Regions from separate parts of the Homo sapiens genome. Here regions 2 and 3 are each linked to region 1. The links are contacts of gene promoters, found by promoter capture Hi-C in blood cells and fetal thymus (Javierre and others, 2016). All regions are on one chromosome and are shown on one strand. The core of a region is centred on a gene start or on the middle of the fragment in contact, and the rest is flanking DNA. Distances in the headings are between cores, read along the strand shown. Region 1 holds the start of SNHG12 (small nucleolar RNA host gene 12). Region 2 holds the start of TMEM200B (transmembrane protein 200B). Region 3 holds the start of PPP1R8 (protein phosphatase 1 regulatory subunit 8).

Region 1 (3,413 bases), core at 660-3,159:
TCTGTTGCCCAGACTGGAATGCAGTGGCACGATCTCGGTTCACTGCAACCTCTGCCTCAGCCTCCCGAGTAGCTGGGATTATAGGCGCCCGCCACCATGTCTGGTTAATTTTTTATATTTTTAGTAGAGACGGGGTTTCACCATCTTGGCCAGGCTGGTCTTGAACTCCTGATCTCGTGACCCACCCGCCTTGGCCTCCCAAAGTGCTGGGATTACAGGCATGAGTTACTGTGCCTGGCCTTATTTATTTTTAAAGGCAGGGTCTCACTTTGTTGCCCAGGCTGACCTCCAGCTCCTGGACAGAAGTGATCCTCCTGTTTCAGCTTCCCAAGTAGCTGGACTACAGGTGATCCACTGCATCTGCCTTAATATAATATGTATATCTATCTATCTATATATACACACACATAGATATAGATAGATATATATAGATATATTTTTTGAGAGGGAGTCTCGCTGTATCACCCAGGCTGGAGTGCAGTGGCATGATCTTGGCTCACTGCAACCTCTGCCTCCCAGGTTCGAGCGATTCTTATGCCTTAGCCTCCCAAGTAGCTGGGACTGTAGATGAGTGTCACCATGCCTGGGTAATTTTTTTTTTTTGTATTTTTAGTAGAGATGGGGTTTTGTCATGTTGGCCAGGCTGGTCTCTAGTTCCTGATGTCAGGTAATCCACCTGCCTTGGCCTCCCGAATTGGTGGGAGCTACTGCGCCTGGGAGATATACATTTTTTCTTAATGGTTTTTTGACAGCTTTATTGAGGCATAATTGACACAGAATAAACTGCACAAGCCTGGGCGAAAAAGCGAGACTTCATCTCCAAAAAAAAAAAAAAAAGTTTAATAATTTTACTTTTTTTCTTTTTTTTTTGAGACGGAGTCTCGCTCTTGTCGCCCAGGCTGGAGTGTAATGGCTCCATCTTAGCTCACTTCAACCTCCGCTTCCCAGGTTCAAACGATTCTCCTGCCTCAGCCTCCCAAGTAGCTGGGATTACAGGCGCCTGCCACCACGCCCAGCTAATTTTTGTATTTTTAGTAGAAACGGGTTTTCACCATGTTGGCTAGGCTGGACTTGAAATCCTGACCTCAGGTTATCTGCCCCCTCGGACTCCCAAAGTGCTGGAATTACAGGTGGGAGCCACCGCGCCCAGCATAATTATTAAGCTTTTAAAGCGTAAACAAACGGCCGGGCGCGGTGGCTCGTGCCTGTAATCCCAGCACTTTGGGAGGCCGAGGCGGGTGGATCACGAGGTCAGGAAATCGAGACCATCCTGCCCAACATGGGGAAACCCTGTCTCTACTAAAAATACAAAAAATTAGCCGGGCGTGGTGGCGGGCGCCTGTAATCCCAGCTACTTGGGAGGCTGAGGCAGGAGAATGGCGTGAACCCGGGAGCGGGAGCTTGCAGTGAGCTGAGATGGCGCCACTGCACTCCAGCCTGGGCGACAGAGCAGCTCCGTCTCAAGAAAAAAAAAAAAAAGCATAAACTACAAAAAAAAAAATTGACTCTTAGACTTCATAAAAATTAAAAAACTTTTAGCAGGCTGGCTGGCGTGTGGAGACCAGACTGTCGGGAGCAACAGCAGGATCTGGGAGATAAGAGACTATTGCTATCATCTGGGTCAACGATTAGGGTAACATCAGTGGAAGGGGTAAGAAACAGTCAGATTATTGATACATTTTAAAGGTAGAGCACACAGGAGTTGCTGATGGCTTGGACATGTGATGTTAGAGAAAGAGAGGAGTCCAGGACCACAGGCATGCGCCCCCACGACCTGCTAAAGTAGTACTTACTTTTTATTTTATTTTATTTTTTTGAGACAGAGTCTCGTTCTGTTGCCCAGGCTAGAGTGCAGTGACGCGATCTCGGCTCTCTGCAAGCTCCGCCTCCCGGGTTCACGCCATTCTCCTGCCTCAGCCTCCCGGGTAGCTGGGACTACAGGCGCCCGCGACCACGCCCGGCTAATTTTTTTTTGTATTTTTTTTTAGTAGAGACCGGGTTTCGCCGTGTTAGCCAGGATGGTCTCGATCTCCTGACCTCGTGATCCACCCGCCTTGGCCTCCCAAAGTGCTGGGATTACAGGCGTGAGTAACCGCACCCGGCAGTAGTACCTACTTTTTAAAGTGTAAGCAAGGAAAGTTGGCCCGCACCTGTAGTCCCATCTACCTGGGAGGCTGAGGTGGAAGAATTGCTTGAGCCCAGTTGGTCGAGGCTGCAATGAGCCTTGATCACGCCACTGCACTCCAGCCTGGGCAACAGAACAAGACCCTGTCTCAAACAAAAAAGTGTATGTAAGAATAAAAATTAATAGATTAGGCACAGGATGGGTGTTTAATTCTCGGCAATCACCACTAAGTTTTCATACTGAGGCTTATTCATTCCATGGGCAAAACATTGCGCTATGTGTGGTGCCTGGGGTGGGCTCCAAATTCCAGTCCTCTCCTCGCTTGCGATAGCTGTGTGATCCATTCCTAAGTTTCCTTATTTGTCCACAGAGCGTACACAGGGTTTTTATGAAAACTAGATCAGATAATCAGACACAGTTAAAATAGCACGCGCTCAGTAAAATTACATATTAGTGGAAGAGACAAGCCTTGAATAAATCGCCTTTCGGGGAGTATGACCCCCTCCCCGAAACCCACTCAGGCGCTGCTCGCTCGCACGCCCACTGAGCTCGGAGCGGAGCCCGAGCCCTTTCCCAGCACACAGGGTTCATTTCCAGACTGAAAGACATCCCAGAGACAACTCCAGAGGCCAAGGCGGGTCGGCTTCCTGCGTGGGCCCAGCGCCGGGCACTGAAAGGTGAAGGCGCTTCTTCCGCTCGGAGGAAAGCCTCTGGCGGTTCTCGCTTCGCGGGCTCGGGATGGACACGCGCGTAGGGCTGGGGAGGTGACGCGCGGACAACGCCGGGGCGAGCAAACTACAACTCCCAGGCAGCTGTGCGCCACGCGGGCGGCCTACTGTCGGGTGTGGCCGCGAGGGGCGGCCTATATAAGCTCTTGCTCGCGGCTTCAGCGCCCTTTCTCCCCGCCGCATTCCCGGTGTCGACTTACTAGCTGCAAGCCTCTGCCTGCCTTCCTGCGCGCCGTTCCCCGCTAGTCGCTGCTGCTGGCGCGCACTCGCCGGGTTTTTCCTCCCACGGCCTCGAGATGGTGGTGAATGTGGCACGGAGGAGCCGGGCCTTCCAACCCGGTGGGCCCGAGCTCCGAAAGGCCCCCTCGGCAGTGAGAGGGGCGGGAGCCCGCGGGGGCCGCGCCCTTCTCTCGCTTCGGACTGCGCAACGCTGCGCTCTGGGCTGACAGGTGAGTGTTGCAGGCAGGCGGCCGGGTTTACGGAAGGGGTGGGGGTTTGGGAACCGGTCTCCTGGGGGATGCGGGGATGAATCCCTGGGCCTGAAGTGTCTTAATTCAGGG
Region 2 (2,965 bases), core at 80-2,579, 540 kb before region 1:
AGCGGACCGAGACCTCAGGAGCCTCCAGTCGGACTGGGGAGGCAAGAAGGAGGCCCTGGCTTCGATCTCGCACACGGCCTCGCAGGGATGAAGCCCGGGAGCCGAGGCTCGGTCTTCCCCACTGTGGTCCCTCTGGTCCGCCCGTTACCTCACCGACCCCCCGAGGGGGCTTTTAAGAGCTGGAAGAGGGGGTCCCGGGGGGCACTGATGCACCCCCACTCTCCTCCGCCGACCCAGAGGGTGGGAGCTCAGGTTCAAGGCCTGGCCTGGCCGTGCGGCTCCGGGACCCGGCTCCGCCCCGCGTCGGGGGGTGGCCCCGGCCCCTGGCCCGCCCCTTCCTCGGGTCCCCTCCCTGTCCGCGGCGCGCAGCCGGGTCTCATTAGCGCCCCTCCCCCCGGCTGCGCGCCGGGGGTCTCCACGGCCGGGGGGAGGGGCGGGCCTTAATCAATCCTAGGCCGGAAATTCCTCCCGGGGGGCCCGGCCTGACCGCTGAGCCTGGAAATCGGTCGCCGCCTCCCCCGAACCCGCCCCCCGCATCATGGAAACTGGGCCGACCGCCGGCCGCCCTGGCTCCCCCGCTCTGCATTCCTGCCTCCAGGGGCGGGAGGGCGCGAAGGCCGGGCCGCCCCCTTCGGGCTCGCCGGCGGGGTCGCAGCTCTCAGCACCCTCCCCGTTATTGGGAACAAGCCCGCTCCCCCACTGGCGAAGGGGCGCCTGTTCTTAGGAGTACCCGGCGGCACATCCGCACCCCGTCCGGTCCTTTCAGCTACAAGGCCCGCCCCTCCCCGGGCGCTGCTTTCGCTGAGGGCTTTGCGGAGTCGCCCCGGGCTGGCCCTTGGCGTCTGGCTCTTGCCTCTCGGCATCTTGCGAGGCTGAAGCCTTGGTGCCCATTGCACAGATGAAGTCCGCGAGGTTCAGCGACAGCAAGGGCTGCGGGACCGGGGCAGAGCAGGGACTCGGGCCGCCTCCTCCTGGAAGCTCCCCGGGCGCCTGGGATGAGGGGCTCTGGGAAGCGGGGAAGGACGTGCGGGTGTCGGGGCTCCTGGGTCCCGGGTCTCAGTTTCCCCATGTAGGAAGGGGTCGCCTTTGTGGGCCTTTGCGACCGATGTAAGCTGGGGGTGGGAGAGTGGGGATGGCAGAACTCGGGCCACGGGTGCCCGGAGTCACCAGGCGCGCACAGGGCGCCTACCTGCGATCCTTTGACCTGAGCTGCCGCCTTTCAGCGGCGGTGGGGCCGGGCCCGGCGCGGGTCGGACGGTCCCGGGGGCTGGAGGCGGGGCCGGGGCGGGGCTGGGGCCGGGCCGTGGAGACCCGGGCGGCTCTGGAGCCTCCGCGCGCGGACTGGGACCCGGACCCGCGCGGCGCTGCGGCGCCAGGTGAGCCGAGCTGGGGTCCAGGGGTCCGCACTCCACTTTTCCCAACTTTTCGTTTGGTCCCTCCCTCCCTCCCTCCCTCCCTCGGTCAGGGCCCCTGGGGGCGGGAGCGCGGCCCTCCCGTTCCCCCAGGCGGGAGTGTGGACGCGGGCGGTGGCGGGACCCTGGAGTCCTGGGGACTCGGCCCCAGCATCTTCTGTCGGGCTGTGCGCTGTGTCCCCAAGTTTCCGCCTCCCTGGTGTCCCCAGCGTCGGCCCACTACCTCCACGGCTCGGGGTCTCTGAGCGTGTCCCCATGTCCCCACTCTGCTTGTTTTCGCTTCCCTCGCGGCAGCGACGCGCGGGGCTCCGGGTGACCTTGCTGGAGCCGGGGCTGAGAGCGCCAGTTCTGGCTTGAAGCGATGATCGCTCCTCCGGTTGCGGGCTGGGGAAAGGGCTGCAAACTCAGGGACAAGGAGGGGATGGGCCTCGCTTCCTCCTGGATACTCCCGTGGCTGTCCTGAGAGGGGTCTAGGGCTGGGGCCCCGGAGCCCGGCGTCGGACCTGGCAGAGCCCCCGCCTAGTGCGGGGTCGGGCAGTCTCCCCGGCCTCCCTGGGCCGTAGTTGCAATCTGTGAAACCAGGCTTTGGACGCGGGAGAGTGGCGGCTCCCTGCTAGGCCCGGGCCTTGAGCGCTCCAGTCGGAGGCAGGGATGGGTGTCCTGCTTTGAGGTTTGGGGTGCAGATGGGGCGTGGGTCGGGGAGCAAGGCCGCCTCCCCGAGGTTTCGGCTGCGGGCTCCAGCGCGGTGGTTCTTTAGGAAGCGGACGCGAGCAGTGAGGACGACCCTGGACAGCTAGGCCCTGAGCCTCCTCTCCTGCGGCCTGGGGCGCCTGGGCGGGGGCCGCGTCTTCTCCCTCGCCCTCCCTTTCGTGGGGGCCACACCGCACGCAGCTCGGCTACTCCTGCTGGGCCCGGGATCCAGGCCACAGGCCGCAGGCAGGGCGCGGCCAGCAATCGGGAGGGCTTAAGCTGTGCGGCCCGGATCCCGAGGCGCAGGGGCGGTGCTGCTCTGACCGGGCCACGGGCCACGGAGGCCTCGGGCGGAGGAGGCGGGAAAGGAGGCCAGGCGGCGGGAAAGGGGGATGATTCATCCGGAGGAGCCCGAATTGGAAACGTCGCAACCTGGGAACAGCCTTGCCCGGGCCGACGGGGGAGCCGGGAGGGCATCCGTCCGGCGGGGCCCAGCGCCCGGCACCGGCACCCCCGCCTGCTGCCGTGGCCCCAGCACGACCGCTGGGGGAGGGAGAGGCCTCTCATGCGTGGACTTGATGGAAATCTTGGGCGAAGTCGGCGCCGCCTCTCCTCCTCTGCCTGGCTGGTCTTGATCCGAGCGGTCTTCCCGGTGTCTAGCTCAAGTCGCTCCTGCTGCAGCTTCGCTGCGGGCGGAGGAGGTCTGGAAGGAGGGGGCGGGCAGGGAGAGGCTGGAGCCGGTGACGCCCCCTCCTCCCGCGCTGCGGTATGTAAAGCACAGTAGGGGGGAGGTGGGGCCCGGCGAGCGACCCCTGCGGACCTGGGAGGCCCGAGCGCCCCCGCCCCATTTGCTACGGTGCAGC
Region 3 (3,210 bases), core at 657-3,156, 750 kb after region 1:
CATTCAACATTGCAGCTCTCCTACCAGCCTATAATTAGTTCATGTTCAAGCAGAAATGTCATCCACTTCACTGTTATTACAGCTCCATTCTACGTTTGACACTTACTTCCCTAGTGATTCAATTGCTCTGCAACAGATTTTAGTAGATCTGTATTTAGAGCAGCACCAAGAAACCTATATTTTAACACTGGATCTTCACCTCAGAGAAAGAACTGCATAGAGAGTGCAAGTACGATAGCTGGGGTGGTCTAGTCACCTGGAGTTTGAATCTGAAATCCACCCCTACTCCAATATCATATAAAGACCGAATAAATTAGTTGCTGTTTGGGGCTCATCAAGATTAGTCTCATCACAGAGTAAGCAAAGAGTACTGTCCTGAGCTCTGAAACCAAATCAGAGGTGCATAATTAGGGAACTAGGGCAATTCAAAATCATGCCCCATGAAACCAGGTACCAAATGAATATGTTACCCTTGAAACAGGTCTTTCTACAACAGCATGATTAGGGGACGTTTCCTCTATATCCTACAGCCATACCATTCAAGGGAGACTCATATGTCAAAGCACCTAACGGTGCCTGGTACCTACCAGATCCTAAGGAAAGGGTAGGTGATCTCAAAAACAGTGCTTTCTAACTATGTTTGCTATCTCGGCCCAAATTTGAAATCAATACAGCGAGGGATCAAAATGGATACAGAATTTGTAGACTGAAGCAACTACTACAAAAGTGCAAAGCGATCCAGAAAATAGCCACACATTTGCTTGCTTTTTGGGTTTGCTAATTTGAAGTTAGAAAAAAGAACCACCTCACTAGAACCTTTAGATTTGCACATGAAAAAACGTATCCTTGTCTAGCTAACTGAAGATTCAACACAGTCATCTCACAATCCTGCCCCAACCCCTCCTCTATGGAAAGGACAATGCACCGGACAAAAGGCCATTTTGTCCAGGAAAAAGGAGGAATGTTACATCCAAAACATACTTTCTGAATTCCTACTATGTGCCTGACTCAGGCCTAGGAGCTGGGAATACAAAGATGCAGTCTTTGCCCTTGAGGATGGCAATACAACGGGAGACAGAGACAAGCAACAAACAATACACTGCGATGAGCTACAGCAGAAAAAAACTCTTAATTCAGAAGCGTTTCCTTGTAAGGTAATTCATATTTATTCAACTTGTACCCTACTCAAAGACCAAATTAAATTATTTCATTATTCCCAAGAACTTTCGAAGGGATAAAAAGGGTTCATGCCAACCATTACTAATGCCTACTAGTGCCACAGACTGGGAGCTCCCTGAGGGCAGGGATGGCGCTAACCTACCCTCGTATTCTCTGTGGCAGACAGACAAGTGCCGCACGAGGGATGCAGCAACCACAGAGGGATGCGGGGCTTGGAGGTAGGGTTGGGGCCGGGGCTGGCTCGAGCGCGCTCGGGACGTACAGGAAGGGGCCAGATGCGATGCTCCACGAGAGCACCAGGCACTCAGTCAAGAGTTGGGCGTAAGTTCGGGCCAAGGCCTCGAAGCGCTCCGGCGACTGGCTAATCGCTCAAAGGGGCTGCCTAAGTGAGCGCCTTTGAGCCCCCAACCCCGGGTTTCTTCAGTTCCTGGGCCTGGGCTCCAGGCTCTCGGTTCTTCAACACGTCGCCCGGCCCGGTGCAGCAAACAGTTTTTCCTCAACCATTCCGGGGTTTCTGAGCCGTTCGGCTCGCAGCAGAAAAGTAAAAAAAGAGCCGCCCTTCCAGCCCAGGCTAGCTCCGGCCGGGCCACTCTAGCCCTGGCCGCCCCGCCACTCACCAGGTTGGGCAGTCGAACAGCGGGAGGCTAGAGCCGGAGTTCGCGGCTGCCGCCATCTTGCGTCTCCCCCTCCCATTTGGCGCGCCCTAAGCACGCCGGGAAACTGGAAGACCGAGAAGGGAAAAGCGGCATCCCAGCAGCCTGTGCGTACGCACGCTCACGCACGCCCGTACGGGGGGCGGTGCTTCTAGTGGGGACAGAGGAGCTTTTGGGATTTTTTTTTTTTCAGCGTTTGTGCGAGTTGGCCGTCTCTGGAAGTCTCCAGTGGTTAGGGTTTTCCTTGGCCAGGAGGTGTCAAAGGAAAAGGGGCTTTGTAGGGAGGGGAGTCAGTCTTTCCCTACGTCCTCCTGCAAACGCTTCTTGGCTCTAAAATCTTGGGACTAAGCCGTGCGCGATGGCTCACGTCTGTAATCCCAGCACTTTCGGAGGCTGAGGCGGGCGGATCACTTGAGGTCGGGAGTTTGAGACCAGCCTGACCAACATGGTGAAACCCCGTCTCTACTAAAAATACAAAAATTAGTCGAGTGTAGTGGCACATGCCTGTAATCCCAGCTACTTGGGAGGCTAAGGCAGGAGAATCGCTTGCACTCGGGAGGCAGAGGTTGCAGTGAGCCGAGATCGCGCCATTGCACTCCAGCCTGGGCAACAGAGCGAGACTCCGTCTCAAAAAAAAAAAAAAAAAAAGTAAAGAAAGAAAAAATCTGGGGACTACATCCTCCTCCAGAGTTTAGGTTAAGACCGTCAGCCTTTTGCCCTCAAAGCGGAGAAGCTAAAGGGCAAAACTCGGAGATTGGAGTGATTATTGTTTCTCTTCAGCCCTTCTCCAAAAAGTGGCACCCTACTCACTTTTTTCTAATTCACGTTTAGGCCTGTAGATTGTCAGGGAATCTGCATTAGGGGTCACCTAGTCTGTTTATGAAAACTCTGGACAAGCAGGAGCCAGGAGCAGGTCCAGTCAGAAAGCAGGGGTCCAAATCATCACTGTGCTTGGCTCAAATGGTTAATTTTTTTAAAAAGGATTTTTTGCTTTTGGTTATAGGGCAAGGAAGCATAAGGATTGCTCGCTTGCCCTAGATCACCAGCTGGTTTTAAGAGACCATTAGCAGGGCCTCTGGTTTTTTATTTTTTATTTTTTTATTGATCATTCTTGGGTGTTTCTCGCAGAGGGGGATTTGGCAGGGTCATAGGACAATAGTGGAGGGAAGGTCAGCAGATAAACAAGTGAACAAAGGTCTCTGGTTTTCCTAGGCAGAGGACCCTGTGGCCTTCCGCAGTGTTTGTGTCCCTGGGTACTTGAGATTAGGGAGTGGTGATGACTCTTAATGAGCATGCTGCCTTCAAGCATCTGTTTAACAAAGCACATCTTGCACTGCCCTTTATCCATTTAACCCTGAGTGGAGAGAGCACAGGGTTG

Evidence for each region. The method cuts DNA at HindIII sites, captures the fragments that hold promoters and counts their contacts. A CHiCAGO score of 5 or more calls a contact.
Region 2: the fragment with the promoter of TMEM200B here is called in contact with the fragment with the promoter of SNHG12 in region 1 in 2 of 17 cell types (total CD4 T cells and naive CD4 T cells); the score reaches 8.1 in total CD4 T cells.
Region 3: the fragment with the promoter of PPP1R8 here is called in contact with the fragment with the promoter of SNHG12 in region 1 in 6 of 17 cell types (neutrophils, naive CD8 T cells, non-activated CD4 T cells and 3 more); the score reaches 12.3 in neutrophils.

Annotation. Positions count from the first base shown.
Region 1 is chr1:28,581,479-28,584,891 of GRCh38, reverse strand. SNHG12 (small nucleolar RNA host gene 12) reads left to right here and starts at 1,909. Exons shown (of 6, transcript NR_146382.1): 1 at 1,909-2,802. RefSeq lists an enhancer at 2,742-3,413. The HindIII fragment of the contact is 3,732 bases long and covers 1,166-3,413 here.
Region 2 is chr1:29,122,267-29,125,231 of GRCh38, reverse strand. It overlaps TMEM200B (transmembrane protein 200B), which reads left to right and starts at 1,329. Exons shown (of 2, transcript NM_001003682.4): 1 at 1,329-1,376. RefSeq lists enhancers at 1-195, 196-1,055, 1,056-1,915. The HindIII fragment of the contact is 10,456 bases long and covers 1-2,965 here.
Region 3 is chr1:27,829,478-27,832,687 of GRCh38, reverse strand. It overlaps PPP1R8 (protein phosphatase 1 regulatory subunit 8), which reads right to left and starts at 1,906. Exons shown (of 7, transcript NM_014110.5): 1 at 1,797-1,906. The coding sequence starts at 1,852. It overlaps LOC124903885 (a long non-coding RNA gene), which reads left to right and starts at 905. Exons shown (of 2, transcript XR_007065562.1): 1 at 905-1,939. RefSeq lists enhancers at 857-1,641, 1,599-1,768, 1,642-2,427 and a silencer at 1,899-1,978. The HindIII fragment of the contact is 9,216 bases long and covers 1-3,210 here.